Linked DNA regions of Homo sapiens: regions 1, 3 and 4 are each linked to region 2. Evidence: promoter capture Hi-C in 16 types of primary human blood cells and fetal thymus (Javierre and others, 2016). All regions are on one chromosome and are shown on one strand. The core of a region is centred on a gene start or on the middle of the fragment in contact, and the rest is flanking DNA. Distances in the headings are between cores, read along the strand shown.

Evidence for each region. The method cuts DNA at HindIII sites, captures the fragments that hold promoters and counts their contacts. A CHiCAGO score of 5 or more calls a contact.
Region 1: a fragment that was not itself captured here is called in contact with the fragment with the promoter of SLC11A2 in region 2 in 1 of 17 cell types (megakaryocytes); the score reaches 5.4 in megakaryocytes.
Region 3: a contact is called between a fragment that was not itself captured here and the fragment with the promoter of SLC11A2 in region 2, in 1 of 17 cell types (megakaryocytes). The highest score is 5.4, in megakaryocytes.
Region 4: a contact is called between a fragment that was not itself captured here and the fragment with the promoter of SLC11A2 in region 2, in 1 of 17 cell types (megakaryocytes). The highest score is 6.9, in megakaryocytes.

What each region holds. Positions count from the first base shown.
Region 1 is chr12:51,285,679-51,288,784 of GRCh38, forward strand. It overlaps BIN2 (bridging integrator 2), which reads right to left. Exons shown (of 13, transcript NM_016293.4): 11 at 2,430-2,510. Among named protein-coding and RNA genes, the nearest start is that of SMAGP, 17 kb to the left of the region's middle. The HindIII fragment of the contact is 1,579 bases long and covers 873-2,451 here.
Region 2 is chr12:51,025,003-51,027,865 of GRCh38, forward strand. It overlaps SLC11A2 (solute carrier family 11 member 2), which reads right to left and starts at 1,382. Exons shown (of 16, transcript NM_000617.3): 1 at 1,308-1,382. RefSeq lists enhancers at 342-955, 956-1,567 and silencers at 973-1,032, 1,043-1,762. The HindIII fragment of the contact is 11,669 bases long and covers 1-2,863 here.
Region 3 is chr12:50,730,639-50,733,487 of GRCh38, forward strand. It overlaps DIP2B (disco interacting protein 2 homolog B), which reads left to right. Exons shown (of 38, transcript NM_173602.3): 31 at 731-899; 32 at 1,728-1,898. Among named protein-coding and RNA genes, the nearest start is that of ATF1, 32 kb to the right of the region's middle. The HindIII fragment of the contact is 4,800 bases long and covers 1-2,849 here.
Region 4 is chr12:51,364,314-51,367,098 of GRCh38, forward strand. It overlaps GALNT6 (polypeptide N-acetylgalactosaminyltransferase 6), which reads right to left. Exons shown (of 12, transcript NM_007210.4): 5 at 1,117-1,266; 6 at 1-42. Among named protein-coding and RNA genes, the nearest start is that of CELA1, 19 kb to the left of the region's middle. The HindIII fragment of the contact is 1,990 bases long and covers 424-2,413 here.

The DNA of each region.
Region 1 (3,106 bases), core at 412-2,911, 260 kb after region 2:
AGTGGCGTGATCTTGGTTCACTGCAACCTCCACCTCCCAGGTTCAAGCGATTCTCCTGCCTCAGTCTCCCAAGTAGCTGGGATTACAGGCGCCCACCACCATGCCTGACTTTTAGTAGAGATGAGGCTTCACTATGTTAGCAAGGCTGGTCTCAACCTCCCAACCTCAAGTGATCCACTCCCCTCAGCCTCCCAAAGTGTTGGGATTACAGGTGTGAGCCATGGCACCTGGCCAACAGAACCAATTTCTAACAGTGTGATAGCCACTTGAAATTCCAAGATTTCTCCTTCAAGGACATTTTCTTTCTTTTTACTCCCTCCTCCCTTTCCAGGTCATGAATTAGCTCAGAGGTGATGTTACATCACCTCCCGGAAAGTTATCAAAACCTTCCATCTCTCTGAGATGATTCAAATGGTAAGCAAGAACAGATTTTTTCCCAGTAATTTTTTTTCAAAAATGGCTATGTTTTTTCCCAGTTATATTTATATTTACCCATTTTTACATGTGACATGTCCATAATTCTGCCTGAGAGAAAATATGATTTATAATGCATCTGCAAGGGAAGTGAGCATACACAGGCTTCAGAGGATTGATGACACGAATAGGCTAGGATCTAAGATGCTCTAGTTGCTTAATTCTACAGGAAAAATATTTCTCCTTAGCTGATGACCAAAGCAATCCCACCAGAGAGGCTAAGAGTAAGGAAATATTATAAATCTAAAATATAAGGAGACAGACTCAGGCGGAAGGAGAGTGTATCCTGTACCTCTTTTCCAGGGAGGACAGTGTTACTAGCCTGTTTCTTAAAATGGTCAGAAAGAGTCTTGGCTCCTATAAACTCCTCCCTTCAAAAAGATGACTCCAAGAATGCAAGCTTGTTTTATCATTCCCCAGAGGCAATCAAAAAGTCACTCTATTACTGTCTCCATCTAAAATCATATAATACATTATAAAATCAAATTGAAATCAATTCAACCATTGAGTTGCTCTTTTCAGTGCAGAAAAATGAGAAGTGGCTATGCTTACCTACTCAAAACCCCGCATCTATCCTGCACTTATTCACTCTCCACATGTCCTGCCTATCTCTCTCCATCAGCACAGCTGCCTCAGACTAGAAACTGACCAAGGAAAAGTCATTTTTATTATTTAAAAAATCTTTTTTTGAGATGGGGTCTCACTCTGTTGCCCAGGCTGGAGTGCAGTGGCGTGATCATGGCTCACTGTACCCTTGACCTCCCTGGGCTCAGGTGATCCCACCTCAGCTTCCCAAGTAGCTGGGGCCACAGGCATGTGACACTACGCCTGGCTAATTTTTGTATTTTTTGTAGAGATGGGTTTTTCCTATGTTGCCCAGGCTGATCTTAGACTCCTGGGGTCAAGTGATCCACCTGCCTCAGCCCCCAACAAAGTGCTAGGATTACAGCCACCTTGGGAGGTTGAGGCACTGCACCCAAATCTTTTTATTAAATTTTTTTTAAAGAGATGGGATCTCACTATGTTGCCCAAGCTGGAGTGCAGTGGCTATTCACAGGTGTGATCGTAGCATACTACAGTGTCGAACACCTGGGCTCAAGTGATCCTCCCGCCTCAGCATCCTGAGTAGCTGGGATTACAGGCTTGCATCAGTGAGCCTGACTTAAGGAAAAGTTGTTTTTTTTTGTTTTTTTTTTTGAGACAGAGTTTCACTCTTGTTGCCCAGGCTGGAATGCGATGGCGAGATCTCGGCTCACTGCAACCTCCGCCTTCTGGGTTCAAGCAATTCTCCTGCCTCAGCCTCCTCAGTAGCTGGGATTTCAGGCACATGCCACCATGCCCGGCTAATTTTTGTATTTTTAGTAGAAATGGGGTTTCACCATGTTGACCAGGCTGGTCTCAAACTCTCGAACTCCTGACCTCAGGTGATCCGCCCACCTCGGCCTCCCAAACTGCTGGGATTACAGGCGTAAGCCACTGCACCCGGCCTAGGAAAAGTTTTTTTTTTTTTTCTTTTTGAGACGGAGTCTCGCTCTGTCACCCAGGCTGGAGTGCAGTGGCGCAATCTCGGCTCACTGCAAGCTCCACCTCCCGGGTTCATGCCATTCTCCTGCCTCAGCCTCCCGAGTAGCTGGGAATACAGGCACCCGCCACCACACCCGGCTAATTTTTTGTATTTTTAGTAGAGACGGGGTTTCACCGTGTTAGCCAGGATGATCTCGATCTCCTGACCTGGGAATCCGCCCGCCTCTGCCTCCCAAAGTGCTGGGATTACAGGCATGAGCCACCGCGCCCGGCCAGGACAAGTTTTACATCTTGCTCTGTTAGGGCCCTCAGTGCTTCATGTGAATCAAGACTGAAGGCCTCTGAAAGATATACTTCTGGAAAAAGAAAAATAAATTTTAATGTACAAAAAAATAGGGCATCATCATGTAGATGACTTAGGCTTTTAGTACCTCCGAGGAGTTAGCTGAGATAAGCTTATTATCCTTTTCCTTGTCTTCCATCTTCTTTGCCTCTCCAGGCTCTGAAGCAACCTGTGAATCAAAGTGAACAATGGAGGAGAGAGTCCCACACCTTCCACCTGGGGGCCATCCCTGTGCCCTTGGTCCATATTAGCTCCTCTCAGATATCAGGAGGCTCCCGAGGTAGCCTTGGTCAGACACAGGCAGTAGTAGGGTGGTGTGATCTAACGAGTGTCAGAAATCTCACACACTTCTCCCGGATATACACATGGCTCATGTGCTAGCCTTCTTCATTGCTCACATGTCACCGCTGACTGCTCTATAAACTTGCAACTCAGCTCCCACTCCCTGTGTCCTTCCCTACTTAATTTTTCTTCATATCACTTATCATTACTAGATTGTAATTTTATTTATTCTTTTTTTTTGTCTGTCTTCCGCACTAAAATATAAGCCTCAGGAAGGCAGGGTATTTTGTTTTGTTCACTGTCATACCCCACCTCCTAGAAAAGTCCCAGGCACACTGTAGGGGCTCAGTAAGTAATTGTAGAATGAATAAATCTTGTTGCCATCTAGTCAGACATTTCACCATAATCCTCTCTACAATGTACCTGACTGGAGATAATCTATCCTAGATCTTTTTTTTTTTTTTTGAGACAGGGTCTTGCTCT
Region 2 (2,863 bases), core at 132-2,631:
GCCGAAGGTTTCAGGTTTCATTTACCCAACACAGGTATCACAATAAATGACCTAGTATAATGATAGTTTCCAACCGTATTTAATAAAACAAACACGCAGCAGAAATCCTCTAGTCACATATAACTACACTATACCCTCAGATCAAAGTTAATGATGTCAATGGAAAGTATAGGCCGGCGGGTTCACTGGTGATAAGTCATGAGACTCTGAGCAAAGAATAAGTAATAAGGTTAGAATTCTTTAGAAGTGTTAAGGGGAAAGAAGGTAACAACAACAAAAACTCCTCCACATCAAGAGTTCTAAGTACTTTGTTGTTTATTAACTAATTTCATACCAACAACCCTGTAAGACTGATATTATCAATCCCCATTTTAAGTACGTGGAACAAAAGAAGAAAGAGGCAAACAACATGCTCAAAGATTTACAAAGCCAAGAAATCATGCGAACTGGTGGGGCTTCGGGTTCCAGAAGTCAGTGTAAACATAGCTTCTCCATTTTTCACCAACAGTCACTAAAATTGAGGCCAGCAAGTTTTTAGAAGCCTATCTCCCCTTGCAAACTCTCCTTCCATATAATTTTTGCTTTTGCAAGAGATGTCACATTTAAGCGGTAGCTTTAAAAGTGGGGACACATGAAACGCACAGCTGGGAGAGCCATCCAGCCCACTTACATATGTGCAATATCCCCCTGTAGAAAAACCCTGCTCATTGGAGCCTGGAATCCAGAGGGTCCCTGAGAGCTACACAAACAGCCTTAAAACCAATCTACCCACAATTACTGAGCCGCGTATGCAGGCTATTCACACAGAAGGCGCTCCCTGAAGTCGGTTAGGTTATAATGAGTCTTTTGTTGAAGCGGGGCGGCGGGAGGCCCCGGAGAGCAGCCCGGCCCCCTGCGGCGCCGACGAAGAGGCCACGAAAGACCTTGCCCTGTGCCCGTCGGCCTCTTTCGAGGCGTCGAAGCAGGTCAGCGCACCCCGACACAGGCCGGGCGCGCCATCCGGTGCAGCTGGGAGCTGGGCCATGTGTCCTAGGCCGCGGCGGGGAAGGGGCGAGACCCCCGCGACCTCCGGCGTTCCCTCCCTGCCCCCATCTTTGGGTCTTTCTCTGAATGGCGCGACTCCATCAGTCCTGGACTCTGGGCCTGAGGCCCTCCCTGGCCACACCTCCCCTCACAGCCCCGCACGGCGAGCCGGTGTCGCATCCTAGCCCCGGAGCCTGACCCCCGACACAGGCCCTCGAGCCGCCCCGCGCCCCTCCCTGCCAGCGAGCGGAATGCCGTGACCCCTGACCTTGCCTTCCCCTCACCTTACCAGCTCCGCAACCACCTGACACGCCGCCCCCGCGCCCAGGGCTCCATATTCCGGGAGCCAGCGCCACGCTGGCTAACGCCCTCCCCTCCCCGCGATTGGTCGACAGGACGGCAGCCGCACATCCCTATTGGCTGGAGTCCCTGCAGCGGCCGGGATGCGTGGCCCGCAGACCAGGGACCTAGGCTCCGCCCACGCGGAGTCTGGATGCGGCGGCCCCTGGGGCACGCGGCGGCCCCTGGGGCACCCGGCGGGAGCTGCATGCTGCCTAGTTGCTGCTTGCGTTGGCCAGACCCACACAGCCCCTGGACTGGGGAGCTCCAGTCCGCTAGCAGTCTGGGGACAGATAAGATTCCTGCCCTAGTTCGCCGTGGCGCCACGTTAGGTACTGACAATCAAGCTACGAGGTATAGCTCTATCCTGTAAAGGGTAGCCAGGCCAGGCGCGGAGGCTCACACTTGTAATGCCCAGCACTTTGGGAGACCGAGGCGGGAGGATCACTTGAGTCCAGGAGTTCGATACCAGCCTGGGCAACATAGTGAGACCCGGTCTCTACAAAAAATTTTAAAATTAGCCAAGCAAAGGCCGGGCGCGGTGGCTCACGCCTGTACTCCCAGCACTTTGGAGGGCCCAGGCGGGCGAATCACCTGAGATCGGGAGTTTGAGACCAGCCTGACCAACATGGAGAAACCCCGTCTTTACTAAAAATACAAAATTAGCCGGGCGTGGTGGCGCATGCCTGTAATCCCAGCTACTCGGGAGGCTGAGGCAAGAGAATCGCTTGAACCCGGGAGGCGGAGGTGCAGTGAGCCGAGATCGCGCCATTGCACTCCAGCCTTGGAAACAAGAGCGAAAACTCCGTCTAAAAAAAAAAAAAAATTAGCCAGGCATCACGGCGCCCGCCTGTGGTCCCAGCTACTCGGGGGCTGAGGTGGGAGAATCACTTGGGCCTGGGAGGTGGAGGCTGCGGTGAGACAAGATCGTGCCACTGCACTCCAGCCTGGGTGGCAGAGCAAAACCCTGTCTCAAAAAAAAAGGATAGCCACCTGGAAGGAACATTTCCTCGCGCCCCCAGAGCCACATCATAGTATCTGCTGCCCCACCAAGAGCACCCCACACCTGGGAGGAACCGAGAAACATCAGCTAGTGCAGCCAGTTTGACCGCCTTAGGTGTCCTCCCAAGCCTCCGTAGTGAATTGTTTTCCTCCTCGCCCAGCTGACTCGATTCTCCCCAGACTTCATCCTACCTACCCAAAAGCAATCCCACTCTATCGCCAGTTTCAGCCTCACACCGTATCTTTTGCTCTGAAGATGAGACTGCCAAACTGGTGAAGAGGGAATAAATGGCCTAACAAATTACCGTAATTTTCTGCAATGTCGTTTACAGCCACCAAAAACATTAGATCCTCCCGCCACCCTCACTCCCCGACCCCTCGCACTGCTTACAGCATTAAAGGTAATTGAGCTTCTTTATTCACGTAAAAACAGCTAGGAGAAAATTTCATTAGTAAGAGAGACCAAGAAATGAGGAAAGGAGCGTGAACTGCAAAGAGA
Region 3 (2,849 bases), core at 82-2,581, 290 kb before region 2:
GGCCTCCCAAAGTACTGGGATTACAGGCGTGAGCCACCGTGCCTGGCCACTTGAATACTATTAATATTTCTGATCGCTTCAAACATGCTGTAATTATCGGCCTTTGTAAATGTTGTTCCTCTGCTTAGAACACCCTCACTACCGTCCCCACTTCTTCTGGCCACTGCCAAATTCATACTCATTCTTCAAGCTGCAGCTCAAGTGTCACCAGCTCAGTGAAGCACTACCACTCCCCTACCCTGGCTTATCGAGCTTGAATGAACTGCTCTTTATTCTGTGATGTCAGTGTTCTTGATTCACATCTCATATTCAGAGCATCAATAAAATGGCTATAAACATCTTTAAAAGAAACCATAGGAATAAAATCCAGTCCACACATAAGGTTTCTGAATAGAAAGAGGAAAAAATGCTACTCCATCAGGGTTTTAAAGATTAGTTATTAGGAATTACCTTTCCAGAATGTTTAGTATCATCTTGACCATATTAATTAGCTTGAGGGCAGCTGTAAGAATGTTATGTAGACTTAAGTGACCTACCACAGTCTGCTTTATTTCATAGTTGCTCCTTTTGCGAGTTGCATAGGAACAAGACTGATTCTTAGAGCTTTATATCTCATATGTCCCTACACTGTCCTTTACACTCAGTAAATATCTGTGGAATTGGTGGGGTTCTGAAGCATCAGGTATCCAGGATGAATTGATGATTCCAGCTCTTGTCTCTTTCACTGCAGTGTCTATTCAGGCCACCAGTCTGTCTTAATTCCTCCTATGGAGTTAGAGAACAACCTTTTCCTCTGGCTCTCCACAGTCAACCAGTACAAAATAAGGGACACTTTCTGCTCCTATTCAGTGATGGAGCTCTGCACCAAAGGTCTTGGGAACCAAGTGGAAGTGCTAAAGGTAAGAAGCAGCTCCAGCAGGTGGCCAGTCCCAAAAGGTTCTGAAGAAATGCGCCAGGACGTAACAGGGCCAGAGCAGGGGCTAACAGACATGTTTGCTTGCCTTTTTCAAGTCACTCAGTTAAAAAAGGGTGTATTTTAAACTTTGGCAAGTTTATCTCTTCCACCTTCCTAATTTAGTGCACTCTTCCACAGTTTAATATGATTCTTACTTTGTGGACAAGAAGCGGAAACTGGTTGGGAGGCTAACTGGAAAGACTTTATGTAAACATAAAAGGGAACTGTGGCTTCCAATACTTTTTTTTCCTAATAGAATTTGAAACCTCAAAATATTAGGAATTCAGAATATCTCCAAAGATAAGGGTAACTCATTGATTCATGTGTGTGTCAAATGATGATCTGTCTGACTTGCAGATGAGAAAGTCAGAAGATACTGAATTTTCTTTGATAGAAAAATATCTTTGGAATGCAAAAAGAGATGAGATTAGATCGCCAGAGTTCTAGATTAATTTTTCTCTCAGTCTCATCAAATAGGGGGACATCTAAGGTACAGAAATGAGGAGGGATAAAAACATTGCTGAAGAGCCTTAGATTTTTAGAAGAAAGAGGAAAGAACTAGAGAATGAGCAAATTTACCAGCAGATAGTGATTTTAATGGGATGCCTTGTCCGTTTCTTCTTTTCTGAAAGCTGCTTTTTTCTCTGTGTGCCTGAGGTGAGAATACACAATTGCTTGGCTTTTCCTGACCAAGGAGCTAGAACAGTGGCCTTACCTGTTCAGTTCTTTTATGATCCTACTGACTTGGCTCCCATATAATGGTGTCTTGCAGACCAGAGGGATCAACCTCTCCTGCGTCCGGACCTGTGTGGTGGTGGCGGAGGAGAGGCCCCGCGTTGCACTCCAGCAGTCCTTCTCTAAGCTCTTCAAAGACATCGGGCTGTCCCCGCGGGCTGTCAGCACCACTTTTGGATCAAGAGTCAATGTAGCAATATGTTTACAGGTGACCCTCATGAAATCTTGTCTGTTGACAAATGGGAGAGGAATATGGAGTATCCCAGAGCATGGGCTTTGGAGCCAGGCTGCCTGGGCTTGGGCCCCAGCCGCACTTACTTGCTTTGGAACTTCGGGCTTTTAAATCTCGATTTCTTTGTGTCTCATTTTGCTCATCTGTAAGGTGAAGGTAGCAGTACTGTGCTTCCCCAGGCAGCTTGCACAATCACTGAGCTGCCAACTCGGAGTTCTTGGAGCAGTGCTGACAGTGAGCGCAGTGTTGGTGTTTACTTGAGTCATCGTCGTGTGGTCATGATGACGAGTCACAAAGATTTGAGTCCTATTTGGATTTTACTTGTATCTGACCTGTTTTTCCTTTTTCTTTTTTTTTTTATTTGAGACGGAGCCTTGCTCTGTCACCCCAGCTGGAGTGTAGTGGTGCAGTCTCAGCTTACTGCAACCTCCACCTCCTGGGTTCAAGCGGTTCTCTCACGTCAGCCTCCAGAGTAGCTGGGATTACAGGCGTGTACCACCACGCCCGGCTATTTTTTGTATTTTTAGTAGAGACAGGGTTTCGCCCTGTTGACCAGGCTGGTCTCAAACTCCTGACCTCAAGTGATCCAGCCGCCTCAGCCTCCCAAAGTGCTGGGATTACAGACATGAGCCACCGCGCCCGGTCTGACCTTCTGTTTTTCTGTCTCTATATTCTATACCATTTTTTTTCTTTCTTTTTTTTTTTTTTTTTCCAAACAATAACCTTGTATTCTCTTCTCTACCCAGATGGCAACTTTGTCATGTTATTCTTGATGGGTAAATAACAGAAAAGGGACTAGAACTGAGACTAATTTTATGTATTAATGTGTAATAAGGCAAATATAGCGCCAGGTGTGGTGGTTCATGGCTATAATCCCAACACTTTGTGAGGCCAAGGCAGGAGGATTGCTTGAGCCCTGAAGTTTGA
Region 4 (2,785 bases), core at 169-2,668, 340 kb after region 2:
TTCGAGCCAGGAGGGGCTCCAGCCAGCCGTGGAAGCACTCACCTGCAGGCCCCAACCAGGAGGCAGCAGTCAGGGCCCTGCCCACAGCAGAGCCCAAGCTGCATCCTGGAGGGAATGCCCAGGAGGATAAGAGACAGTCCACCTACTCCTGGGTTACAGGCAGCAAGCCCCACAGCTACAGGGAGCACACAGAATTTCCTAAAACCCTTCTACCACCCCTCTACCCCCAAAGGCGGAGGCAGCTTTGGCAGGGAGAATGGAGGTCTCAGGGGAGTAACATGGTCAACTCAGATGACCCAAAAGCACAGGGAGGCCCTGGATGGTATCTTCCGGGGTTCCAGCCGATCCATTGGCCCAGCCCTCCGGGCCCACGTGTGGATTTCAGAAGAGGGTGTTCCCCCTCCCAGGGGCATCCGCATGTCAAGCTTCAGCCCTAATTGTAGAAGAATAATCTCTTTCATTTGTCTAGCTCCTTGAGATTTTCAGTGAGCTTCTGCACGTATTATTACTTCATTCGGCCCTCAGAGTAATATTTCTGTTCAGTAAGGTTAGTATCCTCATTCCTATTTTATAAATGAGGAAACTGAGGCTGTTAGTGGGGCAGGGTCAGAATGCAAACCAAGAATTCTGACTCCAAGACTAGAGCTTCCCCTAATATATATCACCACTCCTAGGGAAAATATTTCATCCTCCACAACAGTGGGGAAGTGTTTTGGTTTTGGGCAAGAAGGAGGCCTTCCTGGCTCCATGTTGCCCTAGAAGAAAGCCCCAAACAAGCCAGTTCTGTCATAGCAGGAGGCCTCTCTGAGGGGCCAAGCTCAGAGCAAGGTGCAGATGGGAGTACAGGGAGGGATGAATGTCCGGGGCCCCGGTGATCACTGGAAATCACTTCCAGTGATTTTGGGGTCACCAGTTGTTTTAGGGATGTTTGTCTTCTTGATGAAACATCCTTGGGATTGGGGTGAGAAAGGGGTAGAGGCACCTGGAGTGGGTCCCAAGCCTCCTTCACTCCCGGAAGAGAGAACAGGAAGGGGCCTTGGGGAGGCTGTGGCCCTGGCTCATTCTAGCAGGGAGGGAGCCTCCAGGTTACACCCAGGCCGGTGCCCTGGTACTCACAGTGGGCATCCAGGAACGTGAGCACCTCCGCCTGTGCCACGCTGGCCCCCAGCAGCCGGGCGGTGATCAGCCCCTTCCGCTCCTCCTGCCGCACCACCCTCACCACCTGCAGCTGCTTCACGTACTGCTCCAGCTTCTCCTTTAGGTGCTCTGGAAGGGACAGTGTCATTGTGGCCAGTCCACCACTTTGCTGTATACCCAATCCCCTGTGGGCACCAAGCTAGGGGCTCTCAGGCCTCTAGCAGGCCTGAATTTTAAACCCCCAACACCTGCTGTACTGAGCCATTCCACAGAAGCCGGAGCTGGGGAAGGAGGTTAACAGGGAAGATGGGGAGAGGAAGAAAGAAGCCCTGTCTGTGGTCAAAACTGCCTCACCAGGGCTCTGGCTCTGTGGTGCTAGATCCTATGCCTGTTCACCTGGGCACCCTCTCTAATGTCAGGGACAGCACCTCAGAGTTGTGTTTCTGTGGTCACGTATCAAGTACAAACTTTTTGTTGTTGTTGTTGAGATGGAGTCTCATTCTGTCACCCAGGCTGGAGTGCAATGGCGTGATCTTGGCTCACTGCAACCTCCACCTCCTGGGCTCAAGTGATTCTCCTGCCTCAGCCTCCTGAGTAGCTAGGACTACAGGTGTGTGCAACCATGCCTGGCTCATTTTTACATTTTTAGTAGAGATAGCATTTCACCATATTGGCCAGGCTGGTCTCGTACTCCTGGCCTCAAGTGATTCGCCTGCCTTGGCCTCCCAAAGTTCTGGGATTACAGGCATGAGCCACCACGCCCGGCCCAAGTACAAAATTCTGACAGAGGCTCTCAGATGCCTCCCTCAGTTTCTCCACCCTCTCAGCCACCATCTTCCAGAGCTGCAATTCCACAGCTCCATTGCACGGTTGTTTTCCAGTGTCTAGGATTCCCTGTCTCCCAGGCTCTTCACGGTAACGTCGATGGGTGGGCATACACAAATGGTGACTCCTTGCTTGCTGGATCAGCAGCAGGACATCTGACTCTAATCCCCTTTGTAACCTCCTCTGCAGATAGAATTCTTTAAGGTGAAAACATGCCCAGCAGCTTTTTAATTATATTAAGAAAATACTTGCACCAAGCACCTACCACGGACCAGGCACAGTGGCGAGCCCAGCCGGCTTGACCATTTGTCCTAAGGAACAAACCACCCAGAAGCAAGGCTGACCAGGAAACAGGCAATTCCAGGGCAGGTGATCCATGATCTAACAGAGGTAGTGCTGGGGTGTGGGTCCCAAAGAAGGGCCAAATCTCCTGGATTTGAGGAGCGGGGAAAGCTTTTTGAAGGGAAGATGTCTCTACTGAGACCTCCAGCTCCTTTCAAAGAAGAGTTTTAGTTCATGGCCCTGTAATTTAGTCTGAAATCCTCAGAGCATTAACAATAGCTCTATTCTGGCTGGGCACGGTGGCTCACTCCTGTAATCCCAGCACTTTGGGAGGCCAAGGCAGATGGATCACTTGAGCCAAGGAATTTGAGACCAGCCTGGCCAACATGGTGAGACCCTGCCACTATTAAAAATACAAAAATTAGGCCAGACGCGCTGGCTCATGGCTGTAATCCCAGTACTTTGGGAGGCGGAGGCAGGTGGATCACCTGAGGTTGGGAGTTCGAGACCAGCCTGACCAACATGGAGAAACCCTGTCTCT